2 separate regions of the Homo sapiens genome follow, and region 1 is linked to region 2. Evidence: promoter capture Hi-C in 16 types of primary human blood cells and fetal thymus (Javierre and others, 2016). All regions are on one chromosome and are shown on one strand. Each heading gives the region's core, a stretch centred on a gene start or on the middle of the fragment in contact. The rest is flanking DNA. Distances are from core to core; before and after follow the strand shown.

Region 1 (3,934 bases), core at 561-3,060, 280 kb after region 2:
TTCGGGGATTTTCTTTCTCTGCCTTGCCACCTGGGATACAGAAAAAGTCTTGCATTGGGAACCTTATGGAGAGTTGGATACTCATGTGCCTCGCTTGAGGTAAATGTGAGAGCTCAGGTATAAAAAATCTGGATGCATAAAAACTAATTATTGAAGAGAGGAGGGTTTCCCAATGCATAGGAGAATATTGGGACAGGGAATCAGGGAGCAGTTCTTTTCGTTAGGGAAGTACTCTTTGCCATTTGATGAGGATTTAGAGGAAGTGTCCTTTACACAGCCAGCTCCTCTACTGCATTTAAAATAGAGATTAATTCAACAAAATGAAGAATATACAATTTCATAGAACATAGAGCCATAATAGGTACCATTTATGTGCCAGGTTCTGTGTAAGCACTTGAATGTGTCCAGTGAAGTTTTTACTGGAGCTTTGATTTATTTTAGTAATAATGAAATAATTATATAAATATATATAGAAAATAAACAATAGTAAAATAAATTATTTGATTAATTTTATTAATAAAATAAATGTATAAATATATAGAATCAATAAACAATAGTAAAATAAATAATTTATTTTATTAATAATCAAATCAAATAAATTATTTATTTTATTAGTAATCAAATAAAATTATTTATTTTATTAATAATCAAATAAAATAAATTATTTATTTTATTAATAATCAAATAAAATTATTTATTTTATTAATAATCAAATAATTTATTTTATTAATAATCAAATAAAACAAATAATTTATTTTATTAATAATCAAATAAAATAAATTATTTATTTTATTAATAATCAAATAAAATAAATTATTTATTTTATTAATAATCAAATAAAATAAATTATTTTATTAATAATCAAATAAAATAAATAATTTCTATTAATAATCAAATAAAATAATTTCTTTTATTAATAATCTAATAAAATAAATTTATTAAAGTTCAAAAATTTAATACAATAAAATAAATTATTTTATTAAAGGTAATGGCAAAATCTGCAATTACTTTTGCACCATCCTAATACCTAGTTTACATAGGAAGAAATGACAACTCAGAGAGGTTTAGTTTCTTGTCTAAGCACGTGGGACTTGTCAACAGCAGAACTGAAATCTGACTCCAGATTTGTCCAACCACAAATCCCACATTTCCCACTATATCCAGAAAGGACCCCAAAGGTTGAGTCTGAGCAACTTAACCTGTTCTGATTTTTCAGAAGCCTACAACAGCCATCGGTGGGGATTGGATAGGAAATGCTGGCCGTGGGGTCTTTTGCATCAGGAAAGTCCAGATCTTCTGAGAGGAAGAAGTGGGAGATGATGGGCTAATTGGAGGCTGTGCTTTGGTTTGACTCCCACTCCTGGCCCACATCTGGCTGGTGGAGTTCCCGGGCCTGGACTCTTGGTGCTTAGGCCTACTGTCTTCCCATTTCTTTATGTTGACCTTCAAGTTTGCTGAATAAAATGAGGCACACTTGTCATTAAGTACTTTCCATACATGGCGTGCTCAGAGTGGAATGACCTGGCAGTCCTTGTCTGTTTCCTTCATTGATGTTTATCCTCCAGTTCAGGGCTGTCCAATAGAAATATAATGCAGGCCCCATGTGCAGTTTTAAATTATTTAGGAGCCACATTATAAAAAAGTAAAAATAAAGAAGTGAAATTACTCTGAATAACAAATTTTATTTAACCTGATATATTTAAAATACAAGCAATATGAAAAAAGTAATATAAAAATCAATGAGATATTTTACATTTTTTTTGTGCATAGTATTCAAAATCCAGTGTGCATTTTCCACTTATCGTGTGCCTCATTTCTGACTAGCCACATTGCAAATGCTCCCTGGTCACATGTGCCCAGCGGCTAAGCTCTTTTGAAAGCACAGTAGCTGATCCAGTTACAGGTTCTTCCCCTTGGAGTGGATGTTTCTGATTCCTCTTGACTCAGGAGGGAAGAGCTGAAGGAGCAGACAGGTGTGTCCTCTTGAGCTACTATCCACTTTCCCTGCTGGTCACCATGTATTTCTGGTAGCAAGCATCATGGGGCTGATCCCAACCTTCCCCAGCAAAGAGGAGCTGCAGGGGAGAGAATCTGGGTCTATGTCAACGACTCGTGGCCCTAAGTGTAGGAAGCACTTCCTGGGGGGACTGCAAACTGTGGCCCATGAAAAATGCATCTCTTCCTATTGTGCATTTCTGTTTATACAAAGTTTGACGAAGTTTCTATAATCAGTAAAGGCAATCTCAGCCCTAGGAAACCTGTGCAGCTGGTGAGGTTTGATTTCAATGTTCCCATTTTCCCACTGAGCTTGATTCTCTCCTTTATCCTCAAGGGGCACAGACCCCAGTCCAGTGGGAGGCCCAGCTCCACCATGCTTCGCCACCTGAGGAAATAGAACTTTCTTCTTTATAGCTGCTGTGCTCAGCTAGACACAGAATGTATGCAGAGTCTCCCACTGTTCTTATGTCCAGTTCTTCACTGAGTTTGGCTTGAGACTTTTGGGGAAACAAACCTTTGTTAGGTGATATGGCTTGGCTCTGTGTCCCCACCCAAATCTCATCTTGAATTGTAATCCCCACATGTGGAGGGAGGGACTTGTAATCCCCACGTGTCAAAGAAGGGAGATGATTGGATCACAGGGTTGGTTTTCCCCATGCTGTTCTCATGATAGTGACTGAGCTGTCACGAGATCTGATGGTTTTATAAGGAGCTCTTTCCCCTTCACTTTCTCCTGTGTCTCCTACCGTCATGTAAGACATAACTGCTTCCCTTTCTGTCATGATTTTAAGTTTCTTGAGGCCTTCCCAGCCATGCAGAACTGAGTCAATGAAACCTCTTTCCTTTATAAATTACCCAGTCTCGAGTAGTATCTTTTTTTTTTATTTTTTATTTTTATTTATTTATTTATTTGCAGACAAGGTCTCACTCTGTCTCCCAGGCTGGAGTGCAGTGGTGCGATCTCAGCTCTCTGCAACCTCCGCCTCGCAGGTTCAAGTGATTCTTGTGGCTTAGCTTCCCGTGTAGCTGGGATTAAAGATGCCCACAACAACACCTGGCTAATTTTTGCATTTTTAGTAGAGACGGGGTTTCACCTTGTTGGCCAGGCTGGTCTCAAACTCCTGACCTCAGGTGATCCGGCCGCCTCGGCCTCCCAAAGTCCTGGGATTACAGGTGTGAGCCACTGCACCTGGTCATCGGGTAGTACCTTTACAGCAGTGTGAAAACAGACTAATACACTTGGTGTAGGAAGATGCGGGGAATGTGTGCAGAACTGGCTGTAGACAGGGAAGGGATAGGCTGAAAAGATATCATGGCTTTTGGGGAGATGACAGTCATCTACTCAACCCTCTGAGCTTTTGTGTCTCTAACCTTGGGCAACATAGGGGCAGTGCACCCCCCCATCTCTGAGACCTGTTGGCATCCTTGGATAGGAATTAAATAAAACCCTCAAGGTCAGACATCTTCAGGTTCAGCTGCTAGTTCTCCTCCAGTTTGCATACAGTTGCAGGAATCATTGTCCCCTTGTGATACTCTCGATTACTTCTGGTGTGGGTCCCTCTCTTATATTCTTGGTGCTTTCAAGGATTCATTTCTTGTTCCATTGAGATCTGATGCCCTAAGCTTATGTCAAACTCTGCTTCAGATGAAAAGCTTAATTCTGGTCTTGCCTGGGTGTTGACAAAGGTAAGATAATTCTACAGAATCAGAAGAAACAGCAGATGTGTTTTACAAGTGCTAGGACATTTTAGACAGTTCGATAGGGTGTGTTTTATATTTGAAGGATGAGGAGAAAAAACTAAGTTTTTCCTATTGAATTGTTGGGCCACCTTGCAGAAGATGGCAATAGAAAAATAGACTTTTCATTTCAGCTTTTGGGGCTGTTGCCCCAGGAGAAAGGTGCTTTTCCAGTCCCTAGTGGCATAGGTTACTCGGG
Region 2 (4,183 bases), core at 227-2,726:
CACCCCGACCTCTGCCTGGGATGTTCTCTGCTGTCATTCTCTGAGTGTATGCGGATACTCTCCTATCTCATCTGCAAAACAAGTGGCTTGGATGGGATGTTGACTAAGACCAACGAGATACCTTCCATGGTCTTAAAGATCAAAGATTTTACTTTTCTGTTAATCTGAGAACTTAGAAGGATCCCCTCCAAGTTAGAGGACTACATTTACAGCAGCTTAGATGAACAGAAAGGACTAGAAGTGAGAGTGATGGTAACAAGGGCAGTCACTTTCCATCTATAGTGCTCTGGAGTTGATGACAGTGCTCCGTGTATTAGGTTTCCTGATTAAAAACTGTTTATTTTGTAGCAGAGGCTACTGAGGGCCGGAGGTTGTTAAATGACTTGCTTGAGGTCACGCAGGTAGTGAGTGATAAAGTCAGCCTCCTAACCAGGGTTTTCCAGTCCTAACTCTGATACAAAGTAACTGTGTGAAGACATTGCCCATATCTAGGCCCCAGTCTCCCAATCTGTGAAATGGGTGGATTGTTCCACTGGCAATAAGATGTGGTGTTTTGTTTTGTTTTGTTTTGTTTTGTTTTGTGACAGGGTCTCTCTCTCTGTTGCCTGGGCTGGAGTCCAGTGGCATGATTCCAGCTCACTGCAGCCTCAAACTCCTGGGCTCAAGCGATCCTCCTGCTGCAGTCTCCTGAGTAGCTGGGACTACAGGTGCACACCACCGTGCCCAGCTAAGTTTTTTTTTTTTAGTTTATATGGGGTCTCACTATGTTGCCCAACCTAGTTTTGAACTCCTGGCCTCAAGCGATCCTGCCTTGGCCTCCCTGAGTGCTGGAGTTACAGATGTGAGCCACCGTGCCCAGCCAGATGTGTGATCTTATGGTTTGCCTTTTGCTCCCACACGTCAGAACTGGTGATCTGCTTGCCCTTGGAATGCCAGGGGCCGACCTGATTTTCAGGAAATGGTCCTTTCCCTGTGGGTGGGGAAGCTTCACTTGGTGCTGTTTGGTAAATAACTGTATTGGTCTCCGGAGGGTTTGAAAATCACATTTCTCCCTCTTATTGCTATGGGCGACTAACACTAGCTAAAGCTTGAAATCAGGCCCCAAAGGGTGGCCTCGCTGATGACTCTGGTTTCTCTTTTCACTGTCTAGGGCCCAGGGAGTTTCTCAGCATTTTTGATTGTGAAGGACTATAGAGGCCTTCCTGTGCCCAGAAAGGCCTTGCTTGGTGGGTGTTTAGTCCAAGCCCTTGCCTTCAGGCGGATGGACCAGATGACCTAATAAAGTTTCTAATAAAACCTCCTGGGCAGATCACCAACCTCCTTCCTCTTTAAAGTCTCATTGAGAGAGGAATGTCTACAGCATCCTTGGTAACACATTACAGTGTTTCACAACCCTCCTAGCCAGGAAGCTGTTCTTAATGTTTAACCTTAATCCCTCCCGCTGAAATTTAAGGCCCTTTTCTCTTGTTGAGTGCAAATGGAGAACAGCTGCTCACGCTCGTCGTCTGACATCAGCTATTTCTCAGGATGACCCTGCGAGACAGGCCAGGGTCATTAGACCCAATTTGGTTCTCAGCAAATATGTGTTTATTCCTGCATGCGTGGGCCACAGGCTGGTTTCTTGGGTGCAATGAATAGCTGCAGGTTTATTAGGGTGTCTTTTTAGATGGATGTATGTTTCCCGATGTCTATAGAACACTCCGGACCCCGGAGAGTGAAGACTCTGCCTGTCGGACTTGCTTTGAGAAGATCCTTCTCCACCTCCCCATGGCAGAAGTTGCTTCACAGAGGGGAACAGTTTTATGGATGTGGCTGAGACCTTAAACTTGAGGCAACCCATCTGAGGTGGCATCCAGAGGAGACTGGCTGGCCCCTCCTTCACCTTGGATGTAGTGCTGTTTCTAGGATCTCTTTTCAATCAGCAAAACAGGGGATGTTCCAAGAGGGTGTGGATTCCCTGCCATCCCACATGGTCAAGTGGAGGGGACGGGAAAAAGCTATGAAGGGTTTGTGACCACACAGACTCTCCTGGCCCCCTGTCCTTTTGGAAAGAAGACAGGGATGAAATATAATCAAGCAATTAACCACCCCCATCATCACCAAGAACAACAGTATCAACAAGAAGAACAGGGACAACAAAACCCACGGATGAAACATTCCTTTCTCAGCTCAGATCTTATCTGGTGCGTTCTCTCTCTGCTCTGTCTTGGTGTGTGGTTTAGAGAAACATGGACAACGCTGTTTGGAAGAACAGGTGAGCGAGGGTGGGGAATTTCAGAGGCCTGGGCCCACCGCCTCCACCCCTTCCCCAGTTTAACCTTTGACAGGATCTTCACCTCTCTCTGATCAGCATTGCTTCTTGTTCAAAGGCCTCAGCCACCCAGCTGTGTCCCTTTCCCCAGAAAGCAAGGGCAGATGGCAGTGGGTCTGTTGATGAGAGAACTTTAAGGGCCCAATCAGTCCCTGGGCACCCCCTCCTGGGCTCGTTTTCTCCAGGAGGCTGCATTCTGATCCATAAACCTTCTCCTCGGGGTTTAGGGTCGAGCTGTTCCTGATGTTTATCGGAGACTGGGATCAAAGCTATCCAGGTCATAAATCTCTCTCTGTGGCTGTTGGGCCCCAGGGCAGCTGAAGAGGGTTGACAGCCCTTTGGACCTCAAAGGAAAAAATGTGCTCTACTCCACCCACTCCCAGCTCTGCCAAGAAGCTGTCCTCTGAGAAGCCATGGCTGGGCCGTTCCATTCTGGGGAGCTGCTGAAAAGAGCTGGGAGGCCGAGAAGAACTTGCGTGTGCTGGGGGAGAGGAAGCCTGGCCTTGAGGGAGGGGTGCAGGTGTGGCTCCTCTGTGTGTGGGGGCTGGGGGACCTTGTGTGCCTTTTCCTTGTGGCTGTGAAATGCTTTATGAGTACTTCCATAGGAGGATGGACAGGGAGTCGGGGAGATAAACTCAGCCACAAGGCCCCAGGGCCTCAGGAAACTTGCACCCAACCCTCTCATTTTACAGAAGAAAACTGTGCCTGGAAGGTTGAAGGGTTTGTTCCCAGTCACACAACCAGGGATCCTTAGGACAGCCAGACCAGGAAACCATTTCCAAACTGCCAAGCCATGGCAGAGTATCAAGACCTCAGGAACCATCGAGACACCATGGAAGCATTGGGAAAAGCCTCCTTAGCTTTTGAAGCTCCTCATTGTTCTTGAGTGTGCATGGAGCCCATGACTGCGGGGTTTTGTAGACACCTCAGGGATTACATGACTGGTACCCCTGACAAAGTCAAGGCTGCTGGACAAAATGAGTCCGAGGATTTCAGGGGCAGCTGGGCGCAGGAGCTGGTGGGCTGTTGGGAGTGCCCCTTTACTGGGCAGGCTTCCTTCCTCCTGGTGATGGGGGGTTCCTCAGCACAAAAGTGAAGGGGTGGAGGGGCTGGAGGAGCAGGAATCTCTCTTGTTGATAGGTATGAGGCCTTGAAGTCCTTTTCTTTGTCCCAGGATTCATGGACGCTTCGGGGCTGATCTTTGAGTTTTCAAGCATGGGGTGCAGAGACGTTTAGGTAAACTCTTACCGTCCTCTCTCTTCGTCAGGGCTTCCCAGGAATCAACAATGCCCAAGAAGGAAGGGATTGTAGAAATAGCTTAACCCTTTCATTTACCAACGTGGAAATTGAAGCCCAGGGAAGGGAAGGGACCGGTCGTGGAAGGGAGAGCCATCAGCAGAAAGAGACCCTGAGATCTTCGCCTGGGATTCCCAGGAAGTCCAGCCCGAGCTGATTCACAGAACAAATGCATGCAAACCTTGCTATCAATAAATTACACATGCACTTACGTAAAACACATAAAAATATATGGCCTTGGTTTTGGAACAATACCCCACAGATAAAAGTAGCTTTAAATCCTCCATAAAATGATAAAGTCTAGTCCTAAACTCCTAGCAGTTCTGCGGGTGATCACAGGCGGCAGGAGCCGCTCAAACTTTAATGGCTTGGTATCTCCACATGTAGACAGGAGGCAGAAAACCATCGGGGATGAAGTCGTGGGCTCTAGAATTGCAAAGACGTGGGTTCCAGGCCAGGCTTGGCCCTTGCTAACTGTTGACCTTGAGCAAATTACCCAACCTGTTCCTTATTTGTTTCTGCCTCATAGGTAGTTGTGCAGATGAAATGATATCAGTTCTCAGAACAGTGCTGGGG

The links. The method cuts DNA at HindIII sites, captures the fragments that hold promoters and counts their contacts. A CHiCAGO score of 5 or more calls a contact.
Region 1: a fragment that was not itself captured here is called in contact with the fragment with the promoter of LINC01605 in region 2 in 1 of 17 cell types (M2 macrophages); the score reaches 5.4 in M2 macrophages.

The regions. Positions count from the first base shown.
Region 1 is chr8:37,314,163-37,318,096 of GRCh38, reverse strand. No RefSeq gene overlaps it. Among named protein-coding and RNA genes, the nearest start is that of LINC01605, 280 kb to the left of the region's middle. The HindIII fragment of the contact is 3,626 bases long and covers 1-3,623 here.
Region 2 is chr8:37,597,132-37,601,314 of GRCh38, reverse strand. It overlaps LINC01605 (long intergenic non-protein coding RNA 1605), which reads left to right and starts at 1,476. Exons shown (of 5, transcript NR_170186.1): 1 at 1,476-2,254. The HindIII fragment of the contact is 9,185 bases long and covers 1,090-4,183 here.